Linked DNA regions of Homo sapiens: all the other regions are linked to region 4. The links are contacts of gene promoters, found by promoter capture Hi-C in blood cells and fetal thymus (Javierre and others, 2016). All regions are on one chromosome and are shown on one strand. The core of a region is centred on a gene start or on the middle of the fragment in contact, and the rest is flanking DNA. Distances in the headings are between cores, read along the strand shown.

Region 1 (3,761 bases), core at 621-3,120, 1.4 Mb after region 4:
TTTATTAGTAAAAATTTTCTTAATCTTCAGTTAAGGTGTTTTTGTTTTTGTTTTTTTCCTTCAATAGGAACATCGGAATTTGCCTTTTATGCGTGAGCTGAGGTATCTATTTGCACTTCTTGTTGGTACCAAAAGGAAGTATGTTGATCCATCAAGAGCAGTTGAAATTCTTAAGGATGCTTTCAAATCAAATGACTCACAGCAGGTAGTTCTGTTGCACTGACTTGTTCATTAACCATTTGTATTTAATCTGAACAATATTAAGCACCTTTCCCAAGAATATGAGACTATTTGAGATGCATGATTCTGCTTTATTAAAAATAACCTGGAACCATTTAAAACATTTGGGAGACTTTTAAGAGAAAAGTGATCTTGAAGGTGTTAAAATAAAGTTTTAATTTATATTATGATTGAAATGAAAACGATGGATACAATTAAGATTATTTACAAATACATAATTAAACATGTTCACAAATGTGTGATAACAGAGGATCATTATAGTACACATGCTTTTGATATTCCTGTGTTTGCTGGCAGGGAGTACTTTTCCTTAATTACCCAGAAATGGTTTTTGAAAGATGTTATCTTTGTTATTGTTGCTTTTGTCTTTTATTCTTTATATAGTGTATTGTGGTAGATTTTTATCCATTACCTTAAAAGAATATTGGTAATTTTCTTATAAAAAATACAAAATATCTATAAACAAACCAGTATTTTCACATATAATTGGAAAAATCAGAGAAATTAAAGAAGGAAAACAGAGGAAAAAATACAGTGGCAAAGAATAGTAAGTGTTCAAAAAGATAGCGGCAATGTGTAATGGCAGAAGTTTCAAAAAGCCACTAAGCTTGCAGCGTTGTTTTTTAAAGTACATACTTGGATGTGTCTCTGTTTTGTGATGTATGGAGAGGGCGTTTGGAAGAGGAAGGTCTGAGATTCTCTCACCATCTTCCTTGTGCTTTTTGTTTCTGCTTTACATTTACCTTGTATGGCAAATGTGAATGAACAAAAAGGGCACTCACATCAGAGTTTCTTTTATATGTTGTTGCATTTTTAAAAAAAATTCTAACAATGCTCCAGTGCCTTTTAGGCTTAGTATCTACTCAGCTTTGTTTCTTACTCGCTCTGTCATGGTAACACTAACACAAATCAAAAGAAAGAGAAATAATTTTACAGTTGATTCCAAACCATCATTTTCGGGCATTCAGCATTCCTTCTGGTTCTAAATGTGTTTTACTTTTTTTTTTCTTCTTTAGTATGCATAGTATCTTTTCCAGTGATTCTGAGTATACAATTAAATTTTTTAAAAGATTACTTCTGTTCTCTGACTTATCTTTCCTTCTGGATGGCTTTTTCCTTGTCTTTTTTCTGGTTTCTTTTTTTTTTTTCTTTCTTTTCTAGAGATTCATGTTGATTTTGGGGTATCTTTTCACATTTAAAGATGAGGCAGCATAGACTTTGTCTGGAGCCATGTATGTACATAGGTGGGCTTTTCAGTTTGAGTTAGAGTTGAAATGGATACAACTGGCGGTTAAGGCCACAATATAAATGCTTTTGCTTCAGATTAGCAGTGTAGACTAACTTTTGAAATTAGTGATTCTTTTTCTTTAGAGGCCTTTTAAAGTAGATGTGCATCAATTAAGGTTGATAAGTTTGATTCTCTTCTGTTCCCTAAACACTTGAATTTGAAGTCTACAGGAGTAATTTAGTGAATCTGTAAATGTAAGCATCATGATTTTTTTAAAAGTGAATTTATATTTTCATTGTATCTTCTTCCTAAATATTTCAAATACATCATCTTTTGAAGTACACAGGAGTCTTTTGAGACACCCTTTGGTATGTGATACTGTTAGTTTTTTCTTTTTCTTTTCCGTGTTTGTTTTTTTTTGAGACACAGTTTTGTTTTGTCACCTAGGCTAGAGTACAGTGGTATGACAATGGCTCACTGCAGCATCAGCCTCCTGGGCTCAACCCTTCCCCAGACCTCAGTCTCCCAAGTAGCTGAGACCACAGGCACATGCCACCGCGCCTGGCAAATAATTTTATTTTATTTTTATAGAGACAGGATCTCCCTATGTTGCCAAGCCTGGTCTCGAACTCCTGGGCTCAAGCTATCCTCCTGGTTTGGCCTCCCAAAGTGCTAGGATTATAGACATGAGCCACCACACTTGGCCCCAATTGATACTGTCAATTTTAATCATACCTTTAATTGTTTTATTTTATAATTGTCAATTTTAGATTGATTTCTAAGAAAGATAGGGATTAACTTCTGAAAAATATTGTGTTAGCTAGGAAACCTTATTTTTTGTTGGATGTAATGTTTAAGTGAATTAAAGTTATACAAAAGTATGAAAAGTTGTTTTAAGGTGTTACAATAGTTCCTAAGGACAGTCGTAACAAATTACAACAAATGGAGTGGTTAAAAACAAAAGGTTATTCTCTAATAGTTCTAGAGGGCAGAGGTCCAGAGTAAAGGTGTTGGCAGGGCCACACTTCCTCCATTGGCTCTGAGGGAGAATCCTTTGCTTCCACCGTACTCTGGTGGCTGTTGGTGTTCCTTGCCTTGAGGCAGCATAGCTCCAATCTCTGTCTTCCTCTTCATGTGGCTTTCCCTCATGTGTCTGTCTGTCTTCTGGTTTTCTGTTTCTTACAAGAACACTCACCATTGGATTTAGCCCCAGCCCTAATCCAGGCTGATCTCATCTCAAGATCCTTACCTTAATTATATTGACAAAGACCATTATTCTAAATAGTGTCACATTTTGAGGATCTAGGTGGACATATATTTTTGCAGGCTACTATTCAACCCGCCACAGATGTTATGAATGTTTACAGCTGGATTTTTGCGTTGCGTTTAGTCCTATTTAACTCTACAGCTTTGGAGCAGTTTACTTAAGCTTCCCAGACTTTAGTTTCAACATTTTTTTGAGGTTAATATAAAGTTGGCCTACATGCTCTTTAAGAAACTGCTGGCTGAAAAAATATATGATAGTAAGTTTGTTTTGTATTTGGGGCTATTTTGGTAAGTAAGGACAAATTGCTTACTACTGATTCATCTGCCTGTAAGCAGCCTCAGTAGAGTTGATTTATTGTTTTTCCCTTATGTTCTATTTATTATTTTCTGTGTTCCAACTCACGTTATTGAAAGAATTATGGTAGTTGATAACACAACTGCCACAACCTATTCCTGTTTTTCCGTGTTGGGAGAGCAAAGACCAAAGGCATGGTGAAAGGTGATAAATGGGCTGGTTCTGAATGATAGTAAAGGTAGATATGGCTTAAAAAGTTGTGTGTGTAAGTTGAATTAAGAAAAGTGAATTGTGGAAAGAGACTAGTCTTCCTTCTAAGAGAGAAGCCAGTCATAATTCTTTATAAAACGAAGAACTGTTTGCTAAGATGATTTCTTCATTTTATAAAGATTCATTACAGAGCTCTTTGGGTGGGGAGTAATGATTATTTTTTAAAAATCTCATTTGTAAGTTTGGTTTTTGATTGTGTGTGTGTGTGTGTGTGTGTGTGTATTTTAAAGTGAAACCCAATAATTGATTATCATATAATGCTTGTTTTTTCAAATATCTTATATCCTGGTTAAATTATAAAAGTTTCTTGCATTTCGTGTGAAACATTTCACTTGTTATCTTTGTAAGGAGTTGGTAATTATATATTTCAACAACTGGCTCTAGGTTTGATGTTACAACATCTAGTATTTTTTTTTTAGTAGGCTCAAATATCAACAGGCTTTTTTCTTTTCACAGCAAGAT
Region 2 (3,741 bases), core at 32-2,531, 1.5 Mb after region 4:
GAATGAATCATATTAGTGTCATGAAGTTTTGAATGAAATTTTCTGAATTTTACACTGACTTCTGTATTAGTGTAGATTACTGAAATACATAGAATTTGTTAACAATAAAAAGAAAAAAAGGAATAAATCTGATTGAGTTGTTAAAAATGGGTATCAGCTTCCAACAGCTTTTTCTTATTTTCAGCAGGTGTTTGTTGAACACTTAAGATATAAATATACTGGAGCCTCATAGGCTGTATATAATAAGTTAAACAAAATAGAATATGGATATTAACTGGATACACAATTGATTACCAAAAACAATAGAAGGATAAAATTATAAGGAAAAAAACCCTACAAATTCTGATGAGTTTAGAGGAGGTCATATCTTATTTTGGTTGAGATATCAAGAAAGGTTTTTGGGAGCTATTGGACTTTTTAAAAAATTGTCAGCTATACAGACAATAATAGAAAATACAACTCCACTATTTTTTATCTTAAGTACTTAAAGTTCTAAATACTTTCAGGGAAAAATGTAATGATATTGGTAATACCCAGTTTGAGGATGTAAAGGGAAAACTGCAGATTTTGTATTACTACTTGATGAATGCATTTGCTTCTGATGTTCAGTTTTAAGTGGTTTCATTTGATACCAAGTCAATGCAGGTATTTTTAAAAGATTTAAGAGTATGTGCTTAAACAGTTTAATAGTGCATGTGCGTTGGAACTTTTAAAAATAAGTCATATGGATACAGGGCTGCTGCTTAGGGATGTGCAGGTTATACAGTTGTGCAAGGATGCCATTGTTCTCCACTGTTCTCTTTTCTAATGTTTATATTAATGATTTCCTTCTGCAGAAACCTGAAAATACTACAAGCCAACCACTTTCTAATCAGCGAGTTGTAGAGGTGGCGATCCCTCATGTAGGGAAATTTATGATTGAATCAAAGGAGGGGGGGTATGATGACGAGGTACCTTTTACAGCCCTCTGCACCATTGCTACTTAACTTTTGCTATTTAATACAAATACTTTGGGCATGCCTGCACCCTCATACTTAATGTCTATTGCCACATAACATACAGCTTTGCCCCCTCATAGTCCAAAATTACTTTACCAATTATTAACAGAACTTTGAATTTCAAATGAAAATTTAAGTAGAAAACTTATGGAATTTGTCAAAAGAATTTTCTGTTTGTGGAGTTAATTCTTTTATGCAGAAATAGTACCAGTTTACTTCCAGGTTGGCAGATTACAATAAGATTTGTTTAATTAGTACAAAAATTTTTTGCATTTAAAAATAATTTTTTATATTCCATTCTTGTTTTACTGGAATTACTTATAATCCTTTTCCCACTATCTCCTGCCAGAAAATCCCACAGCATGATTGCAGGATGGATAATTGATATTTTTGCTTCTACAGCCTCTCCATGTGACTGTGAGTGGAGTAAGTCATCACCGTTACTGAGTGCCTACCGTTAATAGGACCTCCATGTTTATTCTTATCTCTTCACTGTTAATTCTCATTTACTTAGTTTTCCAACAGTATGGAGGCATTTTTGTTTTTCATGATTTAGTTCTTTGGAATCCAGATGAAAATGATCTATTGTCTTATTCTATCAGATGATTTTCTCCCCTTTTCCACTTTTCTCTTGAGACACTTAATATTACTCTTTTTGAGGAACGGCCAGTAAAGCTGTTTTTGAACAGGAACACAGAGGAGGCCGTAACTATTGGGTAGTGGGGGAGGGGGGTGATTTGGAAAAATGCTTGTTGGATTCTAGTTTTTGTGGGTTTGTATAAGAATTGCATTTATGTTAAGTTTTTTTTCACGTAACTTTTTTTCTGACTTACTCCAATGTTACTATCATGCTAGAGTTAATCACCAAAGTCAGAAGTGTCATAAAGACATATCACTGTACCAGTGTAAGAAATCACACGCCATAAAGAGAATAAGCAGATTTGTGAGATAAACTGGTCAGAGAGTTTTCTCAAGCAGGTGTTAGATATATTGCAATTCTCAGTATATAATCCAAAGTAAATACAATGAGTAATAGGTTCAGTGAATCAGAGGTGACGGAGGCAATCTCTTGATTTCTGTAAGATAGCTTCATAGGGCTTTGAGTAATTTCACTTTGCAGATATTTTAAAATGTAAACAGCTAAAAATAATAAGCTATTATGAAAACAAAAAAAATGCTTAAGTATTTGTACTTAATGGCTCTACATTGTTCTAGTTAACTATTTTATAAACATGCTGGCTCTTGAAAATTATGGGAACTGGCATGTTTTTAATAAACCTATCAATTTATTGATTAAGCAGTTAAGTACTTGTTTTAGGATGTGCCCTCTCTCATTTAAAAAAGTTGAATTGTGATTAATCATTTAACACTATCTTTTTTGCAAGTGCTTATGTGACAGAGTTGTGTGTTTTGTCGTTTTTTAAAATTTATTGCAGTGACAGTTTAACAGTGCATGTGCATTGGAACTTTTAAAAATGAGTTGTTATGGATACAGGGCTGCTGTTCAGGGATGTGCAGGTTGTACAGTTCTGCAAGGATGACTAGACAAGGGGCAGAAGTGGGAAGCAAATTGAGTTCATGATGAGCTCTCTGAGGCTTGAGGAAGAGGTACCTTTTTTAATTGGTAAAAAGGGATGTTGCTTTTTCTAAATAGTTCACTCAGAGGATAGCACATTTTTCTAATTTGTTTGTCTAGAAGCAGGGTGCCTTTTTCAAATTCTCCAATTCAGAGAGGATGCCTTTTTGCAGTTTGCACAAAGGCTCCGTATGAGCCAGCTGTGCCCTGTATGGATGATCTTAAAAGGTGCTTACATGCATATTGGATTAAATTTGGTATTAAAAGTGCAACATTTGATTTATAAATATGGAAAACAAAAGAGTTTCAGCTTGCATGTGAATAAATTATTTTAGTTTAAAAACCTTTTTTTAATGTTAACTATCTTCTGTGGCAGATCATGATGACACCGAACATGCAAGGTATTATCATGGCGATAGGTAAATCCAGGAGTGTATATGACAGGTGTGGCCCTGAAGCAGGGTTCTTTAAGGTACAATGAACATTTTCATTTTCGTGTCTTTTCTTTTTCAAAATTAAACTTCTTAAAATATTTTATTTCTTTGAATTCAGTTTGGTTTTCTGTATAATTTCTCTTTTCCTATCTTAGTTATGGCCACCGGATATCCTAGGGTTTTATTTTATGTATTAATTAACCTAATACTGATTGTTTTTCTCTTAATCCAGGTAATTCAAGAAAAAAATCTTTTTATTTGAGTCACTCTAATAGTGTGCTTTTGATTTGTCAGCAGAAATTTGAATTGTATTTTTTATTTGAAGGGAATGAGGACATTAATGAACAATAATAAGAACTGAGTAAATTGCCCTGGTAATAGTTTATTTTATCTTCATTGTTCATATTATTGGTCAATATCATAATATTCTTTAATTTTATTATCATTAGGTACTAAATTGCTTTTTCGTTTATAAAATGATTTATTTATTATATTATTTTTGTTATGTTTCCCCATAATTAATTTTTGATAACCTAGTCAGTTCAAGACATGTGAGAACATCAAGCTGAACACGATTCCATGATTTACCCACATCTTTTTCCCTCTAATATCAGAGCTTTACAATGTTTTGATTACAATTTTTTCCTTTTACAGATTTGAAAGATGAAAATACCATGTATGTTTTGTCATTTTATTTACATTAACTGAAAATCTTCAAGTTTTTTTTTTTTTC
Region 3 (4,251 bases), core at 268-2,767, 1.4 Mb after region 4:
TTATTTTAAAAGATTTTAAGTAAATTACTCTAAGTATTAACTTTTTGTTAGTGATATGTCTTTTTCATAAATTAGTATGAAATCCAGCAGAGGAGCTAAAGCTAAAACAGGAAAACACCATTTTTTCATTTTTAGTATGAGAGTTGTGACGATTTATGATATAAATTTTTTTTTGAGTACTCCCTCTCATAAGTTATTTTATCACAGGATTTTGATGCTTTGGTTAAGTATAAGTGCCATTCAACATCACGTTGAAGAAGACAGAGAAGACTTGAGCTACTAAGTCATGGTTTTAACCAGTGTCTTTTTCTTTGGGCTAGAAATTCTAATGTAAAGAATTATTTTCGAAGGATAGTTGTGAGATTTCTTTTTTTCCTGATCATATATTATACCCACTCTTGGAATTTTCAAGAGGTGTGGAAAACTTTTAGAAAGAGGTTGAGTTTTAACTAAACTGTGTACCCAGTTACTTGTCAGGTCCGCATTGTGGTGATACATATAACAATGTCAGTGCCCACATCCTGTGCCTAAGATTGCAGTGAAGAAAACAAAGGTGGTATTAAAGTTTTTGTTATTGTTTTATTTCCTTTCAGCATTGGTTTACTGAATTACCACCTGTGTTAACATTTGAATTGTCAAGATTTGAATTTAATCAGGCATTGGGAAGACCAGAAAAAATTCACAACAAATTAGAATTTCCCCAAGTTTTATATTTGGACAGGTATGGTTTGATATACTGCATGACTTAGTTTGAAACAGTTTAGTAAGGGAGAAAATATTGTTTAGAGGAAAATTCTGCATAATTTTCTTAGAATTAATTTCTACTTTTGCATAATATACCTAATACCATTTGTCAAGGTAGATGAAATTTACTTTGTATTAGAAAAGTATAGTTTTTGGGAATAATGTTATAAGGAAATTTAAAAAAGATGAATTTTGTAATCTTAAAATTCAGAATTTTAAAAAATACCATTTTGTATTATCTACCTTACATCTTATACAATTTTGAATGAATTGATGCTTTGTGGTGATGTCTGTACTTAATATTGTATCTATCTATCTTTCTGTCTTTCTTTCTGTCTCTCTGTCTTCCTGTCTTTCTGTCTTCCTGTTTTCCTGTCTTTCTTTCTTTTGTTTTTTTCTGTCTGTCTTTCTGTCTATCTTTCTGTCTTTCCTTCTTTTTTGTTTTGAGACAGAGTCTTGCTCTGTCGCCCAGGCTGGAGTGCAGTGGTGCGATCTTGGCTCACTGCAAACACCATCTCCTGGGTTCAAATGATTCTCCTGTCTCAGCTTCCCGAGTAGCTGGGATTACAGACACCCACCATCGTGGCTGGCTAATTTTTGTATTTTAGTAGAGACGAGATTTCACCATGTTGGCCAGGCTGGTCTTGAACTCCTGACCTCAGGTGATCCTCCCGCCTTGGCGTCCCAGAGTGGTAGGCCGGGTACGCTGGCATCTGGCCATATTGCATCTACTTTCATGATATTCGGAAATGCTAATGATTACCTTTTTCTGATAGATACATGCACAGAAACAGAGAAATAACAAGAATTAAGAGGGAAGAGATCAAGAGACTGAAAGATTACCTCACGGTATTACAACAAAGGCTAGAAAGGTATTTTAACTTTTATGAAATTAGGAGATAATTATCAGAAACCATGTATTTGGTGACTAGATTTTTAATTTCAAATTTGCTTTGAGTGATTTATAATTTTAGGAGTAGTTAATATTGTGTGAATAGTTTTGAGTTTTGCTTGAAACTAAAAATCTATAGTAGACTTTAAAAAATTATTCTAGTGTTTAAAATTAAATATCTCATTGTCAACAGGTAATGTTCCTACTGCTGAAAATAGATACAAAGTTAAATGAATATAGTTTTGACCTTCCTTTTTGCATGAAACTAAAGATTACTCTTGAGATTTTCATTAAAATGAATGGTATCTGAGTTTTTCTCCTTAAAACAGGATACAAACTCAGCTGCCTACCAAGTCTTCTCAGCAGCTTCGTAAAGGAGGAAATTGTGTCAGGTGTAAGATGGTATGTGCCGGGAGCCTAGAGAGCAATCTGTGTGTACAGGGAATGAATGCCATTCCATACCAGTGGATGGTACCATGTATGAGTATGGCCTCACTGTTGTCTATTGATTTGGATCATTTCTAAAAGACGTCAGAATCTGGACTGAGAAATGTTCTACAGGCCAGACAGAAATCTAAAGGCTGAAATGTCACAAGTCATTTCAGTTTGCAAACCCCAATCTGCTCTGCATTCCCCTATTTTAGGAATTTTCAAATTAGTAGTCTAAAACTTCTTACATCAAATAGTATATTGTATTTTAATGATTTTTATTCTTAAAAAGTATGAATAATCATATTGAAACATGATTAGTGGTAAAAGATAGGAGGATAGTACACATCACTGTCTTGATCATGAGACCAGATGCCAGATCTAAAAATAAAAACAGTCTCAGGAGATGTCAGTTTTCATCTTCCTATTGAGTTACAATTTAGAACAGCATTTACAGATTATAACAGTATATACTCACATTCAGTCCCAATCGGCCTTGGTTTCCTGTCTTTGGGGAACTTTTAATGTTTTTCTTAAGTGTATATTCAGTTTTACCATCTTCGTTTTAAAGCAAATGAATTTTATTGCTGAGGAAGTTTTATTGAAGTATCGTATCACGTTTTATAATAATAATAAAGGCCCAAATATGCTGTATATAGAAATAAAAGCATTTGTACATTTTATGATTAACAGATATTTAAGCTATGGTTCCGGTCCCAAACGATTCCCCTTGGTAGATGTTCTTCAGTATGCATTGGAATTTGCCTCAAGTAAACCTGTTTGCACTTCTCCTGTTGACGATATTGACGCTAGTTCCCCACCTAGTGGTTCCATACCATCACAGACATTACCAAGGTAAAAAGTAATCCTGATGCAAGAGACAGTTGTTACCTTTATTACACAATAATGTAACTGCTGCCTTTAAAGACAGTTTCTATAAAATGTATGCTTTGATTTACTTCAGTGAACTCCTAAGAGTAGATTCACTTAGAAGACTGTATGTCCTCTGGGAGTTTTTTTATTATTTCAGTAGATTTTATGGTTATGGATTAAAATTTTAATCACATTTTTTTTCAGTTCAGAATTATACTTTAGCATGTTTTGGTATGTACATATATAAGATTCAGCATTTTATGATCCATAAAAATAGTACTATCAAATTAGAATTTGTTTCTGTAATGTAAGCTGATAAGCCAGGGAAAATAATATCACCATGCGTAAGATTTTCTTGTTTTTTAGAAATAAATATGATTAAGCTGTTTTAACTCTAAAGCTACAACTTCATCTTATAATAATTTAGTTCTTATGTATTAAAAATCTCATTTGGATGTTAGATCAATCCACATATTTCTTTAAGATTTTTTCTTTTGAATTACAAGCCAATTTAATACTGTGGGTTTGGCACGATCTTTGTCAAGAGTTTCAGCTTGAAAGGTTAATAAGAAATACTCTATGCTTTGATACAGCACAACAGAACAACAGGGAGCCCTATCTTCAGAACTGCCAAGCACATCACCTTCATCAGTTGCTGCCATTTCATCGAGATCAGTAATACACAAACCATTTACTCAGTCCCGGATACCTCCAGATTTGCCCATGCATCCGGCACCAAGGCACATAACGGAGGAAGAACTTTCTGTGCTGGAAAGTTGTTTACATCGCTGGAGGACAGAAATAGAAAATGACACCAGAGGTAAGAAGTGTCTCATAGCATGGTTACTGTCACCTCAGATGGATATGTGTAATGTTAATATTGAGAAGGGAAATCACGTCTGGATTTTATATTTAAATATTATAGTCATTTTTCTTTTCCAGAAAGGGTTTTAAGATAAACTAGTTTGGCTCCCCATTTTTATAATCTCAATATCAGGTTCACAGGGACCAAAAGATTTTCCCTGGATTGCTTAGCTGATTAATGACATAGCAGATGGCCTGATTTTCTAGTTTGCTGCTCTAAATTTATATCAAACTGGTATTCACAGTTACTCCATTGGAGAAATGTCATACAATATCAATGTTTGTACATATCAATTAGGTACTAAATCTAAGTTTGCACAGGGAGTTCCGGTGATTAAAAAATTTTCTTTGGGCTTAAGAATTAGAAATGTGAATTTTAATTTTTAATAGCTCTAACAGATTTATGAGTATCTATGATCCCATTACTAGTCTGTAACAGAGTTTTTACT
Region 4 (3,949 bases), core at 566-3,065:
CATATACATCATTGTCAGTAAAAGACACCATGCTGGGTATGCTGATATGCCCATTTTCATCTGGAATCACCTTTACTTTTCCTGTGCCAGGAAAAAACACCCCAACAGAACAATAGGTGGTGCCAAGATCAATACCAATCACTTTAGGAGTAGGCAATGGTAAATACTGTTGTGCCAAATAGCCGGCCAACAGGAGAGTCAAAACAGCCGATCCTGAAATAAAGGAAAATTAAAAGATGTATTTTATCAAACTAGTACAATGTACTAAATTACTGTAGCAAAGTCCCTTTAATATCACTCGTTGAAACAAGGCTAAAAAAGACAAATTTCAAAATTTTTTATAGGACTGCTGATAGCACTCCTCTCAGACAGCAAGTTTTTCAAAATGTAAACTGGTTATAATAAAATTTAAAATGAAGTAAACACAAACAACAAAAAACCCTATAACTGTATGTTTGTGTCATTCTCTAATAAATGTAATAAAATGTAAAAATATTTCAATAATATTTGTGCAGATGCTGACAAGAAACAACATTTATCTGGAGCAAAAGCCAGATATAATCTAATATTCTTGATCAATTGATATTTAGATTTTACAGCTTTATAAAAAGCTTCGATTATCTTTTTTTAAAAGCTCCATTATTAAAATTCTCACAAGAAAAACTTTATTATTTTATAAGTCTAAAATTCTCTCCTCGTATCTCACCTCCTTTTCCCTTTCAAAAGGATGAAATGAATAAATGGGATAAAATGATTTTGAAAGTTCCTTAGATATGAAACTGTCACTTCAAAACAGAACACAGTTAACTTTTTATGTATTTAAGTATGAACTAGGGACTTCCTTCTTGCAGTGGTAATATTTAGGGGAGAAGAAGCATAAAGGTGGGCAACCCTGACGGCAACATCTATGAAAGCTTCTTGAAGACAAGTTTCGTTCACTGTTGTATCCCCCAGACCAGGAATAGCAGATGCCCAACAAATACTAATTTAAAAAAAAAAGAAAAAAGAGTAGGAACAAATGCCACGCAGATTGTAAACATAAGCGAAGAAAGATGCCCCTTTAGTTTTTAATGAATCTCGTATTTGGTATCAGGAGGCTGTGTTATACACCTGTGTCCGCTCATATTACATATGACCCAAAACATGAATTTTCAGGGCTCTGTGTTACTAATTGTTAGCTCATCCTCATCAACACATAACTCAAAGAAATAAAACCAAGTGCGAATCCCACTTTCCACTTCCAGCTACAGGCAACATTTCAGAAGCATTTCATCACCTTGGAGACGCGGGGTGGGTGTGTGTGTGGGTGGGGGATAGGTAATTCCAAACCCGATGTGATGGAAAAAGCCTCCAAATTCAGCATCCCTGAGCCGACAGATCCGGATGTAGCTCCTCCCCCTTCCTCCACAAAGGGGTCCTGGAGGTGCACGTTCTCGCAGCCTTCCATAGCTTGCCCCAATTCAACAGGCAATTCAAAAACCTAGGTGCTGTTGAAAGGAACGCCTCCCTAAGCCTGATGTCCCTGGGATGGACACAGCTGGTCGCCGTCTATCCTACCTTGGCCTGCAGGGGCCGGGGCCCTCCTAGAGGCGTCCCCGCCCCCATCCACTCCGAACAGCCGAAAACCGTCTCTAAGTCACCTTTCTGACTCCCCTTCCGCTGCTCCAGCTAGATCCAGGAGGTGAGTCAACCACCCCTGCCCACTCTGGCATCCTCAGATCGCCTCTACGCCCGCAAGAGCAACAAGGACCCCCGGGAACCCACCTAAGATCGTCATCTCTCTGGCCATCACAGTCCCGCCGAACAGGCTTGTGATGACTGTACCAGACGTGAGGCACCGCCCCCACTCCTCCCGGCAGTCCCGCAGCCCCCTGGGAAATGTAGTCCGCTTGCTCTGAGGCAATCGGAGAAGCTATCGCTCTGACCAAAGCAAGGACTTCATCTACCGTGAGGGCGCGGGGCAAAGAGCCTCCATTCAACCGCTGCCAGTGACGACTGAGTCCCCCTTCCACGCAACGGCCGGCAGGACCAGTGAGACTGAGGGGGAGGAGCGCCGTGGCGAGAGACTGGCGTTTATAATCAAACCTGTGGTCCCGCGATCCTACTTGAGGGAAAACAGGCTATCTCTTTAGCCCCGCCCCGCGCTTTGCATTCTGGGAAGCGGAGTTCCAGCCTTTCTCTTTCCGCGGGAGGGAATGAAAGGGAGGGTGAGAACCGTTAGTTATTTCTTTCTTTGGTCGTGCCCCTAATCAGGTCCAGGATTCGAGTTTGTGTTCTTTCGTTTTAATTCCTTTTAAAGCGCGTTCGTTTGCCTGAGATCTAGCTTCTAGATGGCGTTCCTATAGCCTCCCGGAGCCCCAGCCATCCTCCGTAGAAGGGTCCCTGCCGCAGTGCGGGGCCTGAGGGAAGTCGGCTCTGGCGTCCGTGCTCCAACGCTGGGAGCAGCCCTGAAACTCCAGTGACCCTCAGCCGTCTGCCTTTGTTTTGGGATAAATGAATTCAAGCATTCTTCAGTCAATTCGATTTATCCAAGGGATCAGGGACACATTTTCTCTATTGCTAGCACTGACGTGGGCCATTAAAAACAAAAACAAAAACGAAATTAAAAAGAAAACCCTTAGCTCTCTCTTCAAGTAAGTCTTAAGTGGCCAAAATTGACCTTATGGGCAAGTCCTGTAACGTGACAGCCATTTTAGGACGCTTGTGACATGCTGTTCAGGTTCTAGTCTGAAGTAGGATTTTTCTCGCATCTTGGTCACTGGTAGCACTTAATGACTCCTCTGAGAGTGGTTTTGTCATTTTTGCTGTTAGAGTTCACGATAACTAAGATCCTGGAGAATTGAATCCATTTTCTCAGCTTAGATATAAATCAAACCATCCCTGTTGACAACACGTCAGCCTGCTGTGGGAATACATTGCTGGTTATTTCTGACTTATCAATGTGAATTTTGATTATGGAAGCTGAATTCTGGTTGATAGGGATCCATTGTAATGTTCTCTCTACTTTTGCGCATTTTTAAGTATTTCATAATGCGAAATATAAAAAGTGTGTGTCTATAGTGAGTGCTGTTCAATAAGATTCTTATAAGGAGTGAAGAATTCAAGCACTTAGTTCTTAAGTATTACTTGTAATGGGCAGTGGGCTGGAGGTGTTCCAGGCAGACGGAACTCAATTACCAAGAGCACAGAAGCAAGAGATCATCTATTCCATAGATTAGAAAGTGGTGGATCATAAAGCATGAGGTAGAATTCTGAGAGACAGAACTAGAGACTTAAACCAGATTAAGATTAGCCGTCTGTGACAAGCACTGGTCATTGGGATTCTCCCTGCCACTCACTCCTTTCTCCTTGCTAACAAGATCCTGATTTGTTCAAGAAGCAGGTAAAGATTATGTGATCTCAGAGTAGAAGGCCTTTAGAATTAAGATTGAACTAAATAGGTTGTATTCATTTTCTATTTCTGCCTTAACAAATTACCACAAATTTAGTGTCTTAAACCAACTCAAATCTATTATTTTTACAGTTCGGTATATCAGAAATTTGGTATGGGTCTCACTTAACTAAAAGCAAGTTATTAGCAAAGCTGCATTCCTTTCTGGATGTTCTAGGGGAGAATCAGTTTCCTGCTAATTTGAGTTATTGGCAGAATTCATTTTCTTGCAGTTGTAGGGTTCAGGTCTTCATTTTCTTGCTGGCTGTAACCTGAGAGCTGTTTCCAGTTTCTGAGGCCATACACATATCTTAGCTCAGAGACCCTCTTTCTCCATCTTCAAAGCCAGCAACAGCGGGTCAGGTCCTTTACAGAGGACATTTTTTTGCATCGCTCTTCCAAATTTTAGATGTCATGTGTTTACATTGGACCTATCTGGACAACTCAACGTAATCTCCATTTCAAACCCTGTAAACTTATCATATCTGCAAAGTCCGTTTTGCCATGTAAGGTAACTAT
Region 5 (4,075 bases), core at 1,475-3,974, 1.5 Mb after region 4:
CCGAATTTGGATAATAGGAAGATTTTTAAAGAGCTCTAAGAGAAGCTTATGTGTGCTACCTAGGCACACAGTAAGCGTTGATAATCTTAAATATTAAAATACAGTTGATATTTATGGCTGTTATTTATTCACATAAGACTTTGGAATGACATGTATATCCTCAAAAAAAAAAAAGTCAGTTTTTTCAAGGGAAAAGTATTTTAAAATAATTTGTTCTCTTATTCTATTTATAATCTTATGCTGCATAGAAAGAACATATTAGCCTTCCTTTTTAATGAGTATGATATTACATAACTAGAATATTTCATTTAATGTTTATCAGTTATTTTTTCTCCCATCTGTACAATACAACCATATAGATCATAACATCTAGACGTCAAAGAATTACTTAAGAAAGGCATGCATTTTTTAAATTAAAAAAACTTTTTAATTGAATGGATTTTTTGTAATCTTGCCTGAAGCCCAAAATGTTTATGCTTATTAGAGCTAGAATTTACATATAAGTATAATATAAATGAATATAAAAAGCTTTATCTTAATCATATGGTCCTCTTGTACATAGCAATATGTACAATATGTGTAAATCTATACATATTTCTATATGGTCAGATATTTTCTAGATTTTGCTTGTATATTAAAACATGCATTAGTATTTGTTATTTCCCATTATTATTTGTATATTATGAGGTATTTTTGTTTATAAAGAAAAACTAAGTTTAAACCTTAAGGTAATAATAGTGATAATATATTATCATTATTATTCTTACATTAATAAAATGTACGTACTGTTGGAGCAATAAATACTTCTTTTTGTGATAATTATAACCCCGGGGCTTGATGTTGCATTCCTTATTTGTGGGCTATTCAGCTAAAAGTTAATTGCAATAATACGACTATGCATTTAAGAACAATTTTCTTTCAGATTTGAGTATTGTTGGGAGCTATATATCAACTCTAGAATTTTAGTGTTCAAACTGATGCTTAGAAAGGTAAAACAGAACGGGAAAACTTACCATCTCCATCTTATGATGTCTGTGAATAGACTTTGACTAGGCTCTGATAAATTTTACAGAATTACTCACATTGTAAGTTTAGACATATTTTACCGCTTTCATGTGTGGAAGCAAAAAGAACGTTTATATAGTGAAGGGATAAAGAAGGGCCTTTGTGGCCAGGCACGTGGCTCACGCCTGTAATCCCAGCACTTTGGGAGGCCAAGGCGGGCGGATTATGAGGTCAGGAGTTTGAGACCAGCCTGGCCAACATAGTGAAACCCCATCTCTACTAAAAATACAAAAAATTTAGCTGGGCGTGGTGGTGGGCGCCTGTAATCCCAGCTACTTGGGAGGCTGAGGCAGGAGATTCACTTGAACCTGAGAGGTGGAGGTTGCAGTGAGCCGAGATCACGCCACTGCAATCCATCCTGGGGGAGAGTGGGAGACTTCTTTTTTTTTTTTTTTTTTTTTTAAAAGAAGGGCCTTTGTGGTCAGTTATTCAGAAAATTCCTTGAGTCTATGGAACATGGGACTGTGTTCTTAGTTGTACTGCCTTGTTTGTGATACTTTAAAAGCCAAAAAAAAAAAAAAGATTTAAATGCAAGAAGAATTAAACTCATAATATTGAAGGATTTTTTGGTGTTCAAATAATTAACCAAAATTATCATTTTCATTGCATTTTCCAGGCAATTAAGTTGGAATATGCAAGGTTGGTTAAGTTGGCCCAAGAAGACACCCCACCAGAAACCGATTATCGTTTACATCATGTAGTGGTCTACTTTATCCAGAACCAGGCACCAAAGAAAATTATTGAGAAAACATTACTAGAACAATTTGGAGATAGAAATTTGAGTTTTGATGAAAGGTAATTTGAAAGTATAAAATTCATATGCTCAAATCGTTCTTTTTTTTTTTCCTGCAGATTCCCAGGATAATTTTTTGAGTATTTATTTTATATATGCATGGGCACATATTTTAATAAATACGTAACAAAATTTGAACTCAATGTGACTAGTTGCTGGAGTCTGTGGCCTTTTGAAGTTTGAACTGAAAATAACTTAGATCATTTTAATAAATTTTAATTGTGAATCAAGTAATCACTGCACTTATTACACTCAATATTTTAGAAACAAAAATGGGCTTCTCAACCTCTGTACTATATAGACAGTTTAAATTAGATAAATCTTTGTTGTTGGGGCTGTCCTATGATTGTAGGATATTTAATAATATCCCTCATCTCTTCGTTAGATGACAGTAGCAGCTCCCAAGTTGTGGCATACCAAAATATCTCCAGGTATTGCCAAATAACTCCTAGGGGAGCAAAGTCACCCTTATTAGAGAATCACTGGAGAAAAGTTTTCAGTCTTGCAGATAAAATAATTAAACATTCTTTGACATAAAGAGGAGGCTTAGAAGGGTTAAATTAGATTCACGCAGACATATTTTCTCTGGAAAGAGAAAATATTCTATAGAAATTTCTGTAGAATTTCTGTAGAATATAGAAAATATTCTATAGAATATTTCCAGAGAATGTTTTCTCTAGATTATATTAGTAGTTTTATAAAGAATTATTCAGAAAGTCCTATTAAACTACTAATGTTAAAAATCACAATTTAATTAGAATGAGTGACACTAGAAAATAATTTCAGGGCCCATGTGAAATTTTAGAGTATTGAAAGTTATTTTCATATATAAAAACATTTATGCTGTTGCAGTTCATTGTAATTTTAATTCTGAAATGATCATCCTTTTATGAGTGTCTCAAAAATACTGAGTTAAAAGTGTATAGCAAAGAATATGAGGGGAGGCAAAGCATCTGGATTGATCCTACCTTATTAGATATGTGCCGTGAAATGTAGGATTCTGTGCATAATACAAATAAATAGTTGTGAACAATATCTGATAGGTGGTTGAATGCTCAGTGAATGTTGGCCACTACTGTTTATATTAGTAGCAGTGTGGACATCATTTATTTTGATACATGCGACTGCAGAGAGTTCAGAAACAGGGTTGTTGTGACCCTCGTTATCTGTGCTATCAGTGTACTGAGTTCCATTGGATCTATGCTGTTTAATTTGGAGAAGATATTAATGGAGTAATCACATTGACTTTTCAGTCTTTTGCAGTTCTCTGACTATAACTAGTTAATCTGTTTTGATAACCTGACTTGTGCTTGAAAGACAGAGTTATGCACATGTGAATAAATACATTTCGTGAGGATTTCTTTATCACTGATTCTGATCATAAAATCCAGTGGGATGTTTCCATTTTTACCTGAGATGATAGGCACGTTTTAGACTCTTTAGTATTTAAGAATAAATAATACCATGTGGGGGGAAAAGAAGATGCAGTGTCTCTTGAGCTTGCTTAATAGATGCACATTATTTTTTAAAAGTTTCATTTTTTTCCTATGCAAACTGTGTTAATTAGAATGTAATTTAAAAGCCATATATCAATACAACACAGTAAATTTGAATTAGAATTATTGCTCCTGTCTTCTTTGTAATTCCCCAACATTGGTCCCAAAAATGTTTTTCACTTAAGGTTATTTAGGAGTTGTTTCTATACAAAAGTACTGCTGTTTTTGCTCAGTGTTTATGGATTTTGCTTTTGATTTACAAATATATATATATATATATACACACACATACACACACGCTCATATGTATGTGTTTTTTTTTAAGGTGTCACAACATAATGAAAGTTGCTCAAGCCAAACTGGAAATGATAAAACCTGAAGAAGTAAACTTGGAGGAATATGAGGTAATGTGCTTTCTTAGAGGTTAAACTACAGATTTAGGGATTCTGTAATTCACTGATATTCCTTTCGTTTCAGCCCAACTGAAGTTGAATTTGTTATGAATGATGAGTAAAAAAATTAAGTTTCCAAGTCAATGCTCAAGTAATTAATAATTTTATATGTGATTTTAGGATTAACATGATATGATAGCATGTAGACCAAAAAGTTTAAAATCAAAAAAGGAAGATTTTTGGTTTTTTATTTCAATACTAATTCTCAAGTACTTTTTAAATGAACTTTTCTAGCTTAAAAACAGAATAACAAATGCATTGTTAATTTT
Region 6 (4,281 bases), core at 742-3,241, 1.4 Mb after region 4:
AGAATAAGTGAAGAGAGGCATAGACCACCCATTTGGTTAAATAGATTGCCTGTGTCCTTCTGCACTTCTTGGAAGGAAGTCTTGGAAGTTATGGACATCTAGGAATGAAAAGATCCCCAATAAAATTCAGCCCCTCAAAATCCTCTCAAAGGTACACAATTCTAAAAGCTGTAAGACAAAAACATTACGTCACATATATGGGAATTCCCATTAGACTGTCAGTACATTTCTCAGCAGAGACTGCACAAGACAGGAGAGAGTGGGATGACATATTCACAGTGCTGGGAAAAAATAAAAATAAAATATAAAAATAAAAACTGTCAGCAGAGAATATATCCGGCAGTGCTATCCTTAAGAAATGAAAAAGAAGGGCCGGGCGCAGTGGCTGATGCCTGTAATCTCAGCACTTTGGGAGGCCAAAGCAGGCAGATCACGAGGTCAGGAGATCGAGACCATCTTGGTTAACATGGTGAAACCCCGTCTGTACTAAAAAAAAAAAAAAAAAATACAAAAAATTAGCCAGGCATGGTGGTGGGTGCCGGTAGTCTCAGCTACTTGGGAGGCTGAGGCAGGAGAATGGCGTGAACCCAGGAGGCGGAGCTTGCAGTGAGCCGAGATCGCGCCACTGCACTCCAGCCTGGGCGACAGAGCGAGACTCCGTCTCAAAAAAAATAAAGAAAAGAAAAAGAAATAGAGACGTTTCCAGACAAGCAAAGGTGATGGAATTCATCACCACTGGACTGGTCCTACAAAAACACTTAGAGGAAATAATAGGAAATGAAAGAATGATTAATACCATGAAAATATGTGAAAATACAAAACTCATCAATATAGGTAAATCCATAATCATATTCAGAATACCCCAGTGCTGTAATGGTGCTGTGTAATTCCTTCCGTCCTCTAATATGAAGGTTTAAAGTTAAAAATGTCAGAAATATCAACAGCTACAATTAGTGGCTAAGGAACACATGAAAGATAAAGATGTGGCTGGGCGTGGTGGCTCACGCCTGTAATGCCAGCACTTTCGGAGGCTGAGGCTGGCGGATCATCTGAGGTCAGGAGTTTGAGACCAGCCTGATGAACGTGGAGAAACCCCGTCTCCACTAAAAATACAAAATTAGCTGAGCATGGTGGTGCATGCCTGTAATCCAAGCTACTCGGGTGGCTGAGACAGGAGAATTGCTTGAACCCGGGAGGTGGAGGTTGTGGTGAGCCGAGATCACGCCATTGGACTCCAGCTTGGGCAACAAGAGCGAAACTCTGTTTCAAAAAAAAAAAGATAAAGATGTAAATTACAGCAATCAAAACACTAATCATGGTGGGGTAGGGGAGTGAGGGGAAAAAGTCTAGATTATTTTTGTGTGACCAAAGTTAAGTTGTTATTAGCTTAAAATAGTCTGTTGTAACTGTAAGACTCTTCATGTTAGCTCCATGGTAACCACAAGAAAAATTATAGTAGATAGACAAACAAGAAAGGAAACAAAGCTTAGCATTATAGAAAACCACCAAACCACAGAAGTAAACAAGAGGGAAAGAATCAAACGAGGAATCTTCATAATATTGAGAAAACAAACTAGCATGAGTAAATTATTACTTATCAGTAGTAACCTTGAATGTAAGTGGATTAAATTCCCCAATTAAAAAATATAGAGCAGCTGGATGGATTGAAAAAAAAAAAGACCCAACTGTATGTTGCCTACAAGAGACACACCTCATCATTAAATATAAACATAGACTGAAAGTGAAGGAATGGACAAAGATATCCCATGCAAATTCAAACCAAAAATGAGCAGAAGCAGCCATACTTGTACTAGATACAATAGACTTTAAGTCAAAAACTGTAAAAAGAGACAAAGTCATTATGTAATAATAAAATAATCAATTCACCAAGAAGCAAAACTGTAAATATATAAGCACCGAACACCAGAACATCCAAATATATAAAGCAAATATTATTAGATTTAAAGGGGGAAATAGACTCCAGTACAACAATAGTAGGGACTTCAGCATCCCACTTTTAACAGTAGACAAATGATTTAGAAACATGAGACTTAAACTACACCATGGACATTTACAGAACATGAACAGCCGCAGAATACACATTCTTTTCAACTGTGCATGGAATATTCTCCAGTAAAGATCGTATGTTAGAGATGGTATCAAGTATTTTACCAGATCACAACTATATAAAGCTAGAAATCAACAACAAGAAAAACGTTAGAAACCAACAAATACATGGAAGTTAATATGCACCTTAATAACCAATGGGTCAGTGAAGAAATTAAAAGGGTAATTAGAAAGTTCCCTGGGACAAAGGAGCGTGGAAACACATACAAAAACCTGTGGGACACAGTGAAACCTGTTCTAGAAGTTCATGGCAATAAATGCCTGCATCAGAAATGAGGAAAGATTTCTAATAAACAGATTAACTGTGCAACTCAGAGAAACCTGAAAAGCAAGAACAAATTAAACCCAAAATTGGTAGGATGGAAATAATAAAGCTTAGAGCAGAAGTAAACAAATAGAGACTAAAAGAGCAATTCAAAAGATCAGTGAAATTTTTTTGAGAAGATAAACAGAATCAACAAACCTTTAGCTAGACTAAGAAAAAAGGAAAAAAAAAAAGACTCGAATAAATAAAACCAGACATGAAAAATGAAACATTACAAATGTATCACAGAATTGGAGGATCACAAGAGACTATTATGAACAACTGTATACCAACAAATTCTAGAATATAGGAAAAATGGATAAATTCTTGAACACACACAACCTACCAAGATTAAATTGAGAAGAAATGGAAAAAATAAGCAGACCACAACGAGTGGGAGAATTGAATAACTGCTAAAGCCTGACATAAAGATCCCTAGTTTCTGATGGCTACATTGCTGAAGTGTGTCAAACATTTAAGGAACAACTAATATTAATTCTCAAACTATTCCAGAAAATTAAAGAGGAGGGAATACTTCCAAACTCATTTTATGAGGCCAGCATTACCCTGATTCAAAAACTAGACAAGGACACAACAAAAAGAAACAGGCCAATATCCCTGATCAACCTAGATGCAGAAATTCTCAACAAGATTCTAGCACGTCCGATTCAACGGCATATTAAAAACATCATCCACTATGATCGAGATTCATCCCAGAGATGGAGGGATGGTTCAACATACACAAATCAATAAATGCGATACATCACAGTAACAAAGAGAACGGAAACCATATAATTTCAGTAGATACAGAAAAAAGCACATTACAAAGTTTAACATCCCTTCATGATAAAAACTCTCAAAATAGATATAGAAAGTATGTACCTCAACACGGTAAAGACCATAGTTGAGAAACCCACAGCTAGTAGTATACTGAATGCAGAAAAAAATGAAAGCTTTTCCACTAAGATCAAGAACCTAACAAAGATGCCCACTTCCACCAATCCTATTCAACATAGTACTGGAAGTCTTAGAGCAGTTAGGCAGGGGAAAGAAATAAAAGACATCAAAATTGGAAAGGAGAAAGTAAAATTGTCTCTGTTTCCAGATGATATGATCTTAAATATAGAAAGCCCTAAAGAGTTCACCAAAAAACTGCTACAACTCATAAGTGAATTCAGTAAAAGTGTAGGACACAAAATTAACACACAAAAATCAGCACTTCTATATGCTAACGGTGAGTTATTTGAAAAAATAAGAAAACAATTTCATTTACAAGAGCTACAAAAAATCTAGATACCTAAGAATAAACTTAACCAAAGAGATAAAAGATCTCTACACTGAAAGCTATAAAACATTGAGGAAAGAAATATAAGACACAAACAAATGGAAGTAGATCGTATGTTCATGGATTAGAAGAATTAATGTTAAAATGGCCATACTACCTGAAGTCATCTCCAGACTTACTGCAGTCCATGTAAAAATTCCAGTGACCCTTCAGAGAATTAGAAAAGACAATCCCAAAAATTCATGTGGAACCACAAGAGAGCCCAAATAGCCAAAGCAAGCCTGAACAAAAGGAACAAAAGGTAGAGGCATCACTACTTGACTTCCAAATGTACTGCTAGAATATAGTAACCAAAACAATGATATTGGTGTAAAAAACAGACACATAGACCAGTGGAACAAAATAGAGAGCCCAGAAATGGACACACCTACAGCCAACTGATTTTTGACAAAAACTGTTAACTGGAGTAAATCTAAGAAATGTACAAGAACTTCCAGGAAGAAAATGATTAAATATCATTAAGACACATTAAAGAATACATAAATATTTTGAAACATTCGCTGTT
Region 7 (3,830 bases), core at 778-3,277, 1.4 Mb after region 4:
GATGAATGGAGTTTCCAAGAGACCATAGGACATATTATATAAGTAATTAGCATGACCAAAAACTGTATTTGCTTTAAAGAATTGTGACAAATATAACTGCTAGGAATTATATAGTATTCCAGTTTCAGAGTTCTACTTAGAGCACGTTTATTTTGTTTTATTAGTATAAGGGAGTTTATTTTTGGATTATAAGCTAATTAGGCAAACAAGTACAGAAACTAGAGATGCATAAAGATTTAATTGGACAAGAGAGCTATAATAGGAATCTGATTATTAGCATCAACAAGTTAAATACATATTTTATTTAAACTGCAGACATAGTGATTTAAGGATATGATTTGATTCATAAAAGTTTTGTTTACCTACTTGTTTTCCAGAATATAGGCACTCTAATTTAAAAACAGACTGTGTTCCAAAAGATTTTGCAAGTTGGGTTTTTGGAACTGAAAATACATGTTCCCATAGAAACCATGTTTCCTGGTGGTGTGTTCTTATTTAGAAATGTAACTCTGTGTGAACTTAGCTTATAGTGCTGAGTAACAGTATTTTTTGGGAGAAATACATTTAGAGTTTCTACTCATGATGTATTTATTTTATCTACTAATTAATAGGGATGGGGAATACTCTTTTACATTGTAATTAAAAAAATTTTTTTTAAGACAGAGATTTGCTCTTGTTGCGCAGGTTGGAGTACAATGGTGCAATCTCAGCTCACTGCAACCTCCGCCTTCTGGGTTCAAGCTATTCTCCTGCCTCAGCCTCCCGATTACAGGGATTACAGGCATGCGCCACCACGCCTGGCTAATTTTGTATTTTTGGTAGAGATGGGGTTTCACCATGTTGGTCAGGATGGTCTCGAACTCCTGACCTCAGGTGATCTGCCTGCCTCGGCCTCGCAAAGTGTTGGGATTACAGGCGTGAGCCACTGCACCCTTTTTTTTTGAGATGGAGTCGCTGTTGCCCAGGCTGGAGTGCAGTGGCGTGATCTCGACTCACTGCAACCTCCACCTCCCGGGTTCAAGCAATTCTCCTGCCTCAGCCTCCTGAGTAGCTGGGACTACAGGCGCCTGCCACCATGCCTGGCTAATTTTTGTATTTTTAGTAGAGACTGGGTTTCACCATATTGGCCAGGCTGGTCTCGAACTCCTGACCTTGTGATCCACCCATCTTGGCCTCCCAAAGTGCTGGGATTACAGGCGTGAGCCACTGCACCTGGCCCAGATGGGGAATACTCTTAAGGGTCATAAACATGATGCAGATATGGTTGAAAGGTTGGGTGACAGGTAGGAAAAAGGACTCTGTGGCAAGGGAGGATGGAAACCATCATTTATCTAGGACTAACTATATCCATTGTTCTTTGCTAGCTATTTCTCATAAAGTATCTCATTTCTTTTTTCTGGATTGCATGAATGCTTAATGTTTTAGCTCTGGAATTCTATAAAAAGTAGGAAGAGACTTAAAATTTAGAATTCTTGGCATTTTTAAGCTTTAATGGAAAGGGTATACCTTCAGATTTATGTGCCCATAGAGGTATATGAGTAATTTATTTTAATGCTAAAGTGCTGTTAATCCAAAAAGATTGAGAAAAACTTCAATCTGTGACAGTAGGATATGCAGCATACCTGAACCATTTGTTACCCGCCAAAAACTTGAAAACCAGGATTAGTTGCCTGGTGAGTAATAAACAACTCTTCAAGAGAATGCAGGTTTTGGTCAGTAGGAGTTTTACTACTTGTCACAAATAAGGAGAATACTTGGAGTATTCTTTAGGGCATTGTTGCCTCTAGGGAAAGTGACAGGGAGGTTTTATGGGGTGATGGAGAGGGGAGAGGGTGTGACATCACATGTAGAGGAGGGGTCCCAGTGGTGCAAATGCAGTGAGTCACTATGTCAGCAGGTAGGTCACGTGTTATGGTAATGAAGCTGTAGTTCCCCCCCAGGGTGCTGACTTTAGCATGATAATGAGGAAAGTTCACTTGGGTTCATCTGCATGTTGCGAGGGTCTGTCAGGAGCTGGCTCCAACTGACTAGGTGAGAGCTCATTCCTCACAGGGTTTGGGAAAAAACAGGTGGCAAGGTAGGAGGTTGTAAACAGGCCAGTTACTTAAGTTGATTAAATTCCTATAGTCCCGGGGGACCCTCCTTGTCTGCTTACACATTCATGGGACTGTCATATAGATTATTTGCAATAGGGAATTTCAGTAATATTATATTTTATACAAACCTTCAAGTGAGATTGACAGGACCAGAACTGGGAAATTCTAGATGGAATGTAGGAGTGTAGAAAGTTTGCTTAGTAAGTGGGCCTGACTTATGTCATTTAGAAGAATTCTTCAATTTAGAAGAATTAGAAAATGTGCTTATTAGTTGGCCTGATATATGTATGCTTCTCGTTCCTGTATGAGAGGGAAAAAAAAAAAAAGGCTTCTCTTTACCTTTCTAAGTTCTTTGGCTGGACTAGAAATTAAATTGACAAGAGGCAGATTAACAGGAGAAAACCCATTTTAATTACATAGGTACTTACAGGAGTCCCACAAAATAAGAGACTTGAAGAAGGGTCACATGATTGAAGCTTATGTAGCATCCAGAGCTACAAAAAGTGATAGGGGTTTGGGGCTTCTGGGAGGGGTGGCAACACAAGTTATGAGAGGGTGGGGGAGGAAATGTATGGTGAATAAAGGGTGTCTTGTGTAGATAAAAAGTCACTCAAGTAATAAAAGTTGTTGCAACCCTCTTGCTGATACAGATACTTTTTCTAATGTAGATTTCCTTTAAAAATGGATTTTTTTTCACAAAAGGACAGTTTTTCAAGGTTACTCTTGTGTCCGCAGTTTCTCAAAATAACTACCTCAAAATATGCCAAAGAAGTATATTTTTGGGTGGCATATTCTAGTCGCCTGCAGTCTTATTTGGAGGTGGTGTGTCCTGAGCCCCAGCATTCCCATCTCCAATAATTAGTTAGTGCCTCTTTTCTGTGGGATAAGCTTGTCTTGTGATATGGCTTGTTCCAGCTCACATCTGCAGGCTCTGCTGTATTCATTTATTCAGTCAATGTTGATTGCTTGCCATGTGCCAGGCATTATATGTATGTACCAGGAGTACAGTGATGAACGAATTATGGTCTCATTGATAACTTTGAAATGATTAACATTTGGTGCCTAGCAGTGCTTTAGTGCACGTGCTTCTGAAGTTTAAGAGTTCTTGTCGTCTTTGGATTTACCTTGTGATTAACCATAGTGTATTATTATAATTTGTGGTGAGTCTCACAGAAGGCACCTACATGTGCAGAGACCTTTGCATTATGAAGGAGAATGGTGTTCTGTAGACCCTGAATGAAAGAGAGGGAAGAGGAATGCCAGGGGGAAAGCAAAGCAAGTTAGTGCTGGGGACAGAGGTAGGGACTCTAGCATGCAGAGGTCCTTTAAGCTGTGAGGACTATACTATAGGAAAATTCCTCAGACAAGTCATAGAATATTACAGTTGAGGGAAATGAAAGATCCGGCTTACACATTAACAAGAAAAACATGACTCAGGAGATTTTTTCTTCTTCTTTGCTTTCTGGCTATTTAGAGACTGGTTTGGACTTACAAACATGAAGGATGTGTTATGTACTTGAAATTCTTGGACAGTGAGTATTAGAGGTTTCTTATGGTAAGAGAACATGAGCTAGAGCAGTGTAGTGTTAGCAGGTAGATGCAGAGGTTTTTGCAAAATCAGGTGTGTGTGTGATTACTCACTTTAAAGACAGTATAATGAATTAATCTTGTCATTGACAGGTAACTTTGAAATGCCTACATTTGGTGCTTAGCAGTGCGTGTGATTCTGAAGTT

Evidence for each region. Contacts are between HindIII fragments. The CHiCAGO score rates a contact against its expected background, and 5 or more counts as called.
Region 1: a contact is called between a fragment that was not itself captured here and the fragment with the promoter of HSPA13 in region 4, in 1 of 17 cell types (M0 macrophages). The highest score is 5.5, in M0 macrophages.
Region 2: a contact is called between a fragment that was not itself captured here and the fragment with the promoter of HSPA13 in region 4, in 1 of 17 cell types (naive CD8 T cells). The highest score is 5.6, in naive CD8 T cells.
Region 3: a fragment that was not itself captured here is called in contact with the fragment with the promoter of HSPA13 in region 4 in 1 of 17 cell types (naive CD4 T cells); the score reaches 5.3 in naive CD4 T cells.
Region 5: a contact is called between a fragment that was not itself captured here and the fragment with the promoter of HSPA13 in region 4, in 1 of 17 cell types (M2 macrophages). The highest score is 5.3, in M2 macrophages.
Region 6: a fragment that was not itself captured here is called in contact with the fragment with the promoter of HSPA13 in region 4 in 1 of 17 cell types (total CD8 T cells); the score reaches 5.7 in total CD8 T cells.
Region 7: a fragment that was not itself captured here is called in contact with the fragment with the promoter of HSPA13 in region 4 in 4 of 17 cell types (non-activated CD4 T cells, naive CD8 T cells, fetal thymus and 1 more); the score reaches 6.2 in non-activated CD4 T cells.

The regions. Positions count from the first base shown.
Region 1 is chr21:15,805,054-15,808,814 of GRCh38, forward strand. USP25 (ubiquitin specific peptidase 25) reads left to right here. Exons shown (of 26, transcript NM_001283041.3): 7 at 68-205; 8 at 3,756-3,761. Among named protein-coding and RNA genes, the nearest start is that of USP25, 77 kb to the left of the region's middle. The HindIII fragment of the contact is 2,050 bases long and covers 846-2,895 here.
Region 2 is chr21:15,846,827-15,850,567 of GRCh38, forward strand. USP25 (ubiquitin specific peptidase 25) reads left to right here. Exons shown (of 26, transcript NM_001283041.3): 19 at 837-950; 20 at 2,951-3,046. Among named protein-coding and RNA genes, the nearest start is that of USP25, 120 kb to the left of the region's middle. The HindIII fragment of the contact is 8,895 bases long and covers 1-3,741 here.
Region 3 is chr21:15,823,446-15,827,696 of GRCh38, forward strand. It overlaps USP25 (ubiquitin specific peptidase 25), which reads left to right. Exons shown (of 26, transcript NM_001283041.3): 11 at 594-721; 12 at 1,521-1,616; 13 at 2,759-2,920; 14 at 3,532-3,758. Among named protein-coding and RNA genes, the nearest start is that of USP25, 96 kb to the left of the region's middle. The HindIII fragment of the contact is 6,839 bases long and covers 1-4,251 here.
Region 4 is chr21:14,381,331-14,385,279 of GRCh38, forward strand. It overlaps HSPA13 (heat shock protein family A (Hsp70) member 13), which reads right to left and starts at 1,816. Exons shown (of 5, transcript NM_006948.5): 1 at 1,765-1,816; 2 at 1-213. The coding sequence starts at 1,789. It overlaps LOC105369304 (a long non-coding RNA gene), which reads left to right and starts at 1,436. Exons shown (of 2, transcript XR_007067924.1): 1 at 1,436-3,949. RefSeq lists enhancers at 1,523-1,832, 2,223-2,352. The HindIII fragment of the contact is 7,322 bases long and covers 913-3,949 here.
Region 5 is chr21:15,862,587-15,866,661 of GRCh38, forward strand. USP25 (ubiquitin specific peptidase 25) reads left to right here. Exons shown (of 26, transcript NM_001283041.3): 21 at 1,682-1,860; 22 at 3,680-3,758. Among named protein-coding and RNA genes, the nearest start is that of USP25, 130 kb to the left of the region's middle. The HindIII fragment of the contact is 4,397 bases long and covers 527-4,075 here.
Region 6 is chr21:15,783,306-15,787,586 of GRCh38, forward strand. The region is part of intron 4 of USP25 (ubiquitin specific peptidase 25); the gene reads left to right. Among named protein-coding and RNA genes, the nearest start is that of USP25, 55 kb to the left of the region's middle. The HindIII fragment of the contact is 1,016 bases long and covers 1,484-2,499 here.
Region 7 is chr21:15,751,296-15,755,125 of GRCh38, forward strand. All of the region lies in intron 1 of USP25 (ubiquitin specific peptidase 25), which reads left to right. Among named protein-coding and RNA genes, the nearest start is that of USP25, 23 kb to the left of the region's middle. RefSeq lists enhancers at 1,648-2,273, 1,775-2,069. The HindIII fragment of the contact is 1,086 bases long and covers 1,485-2,570 here.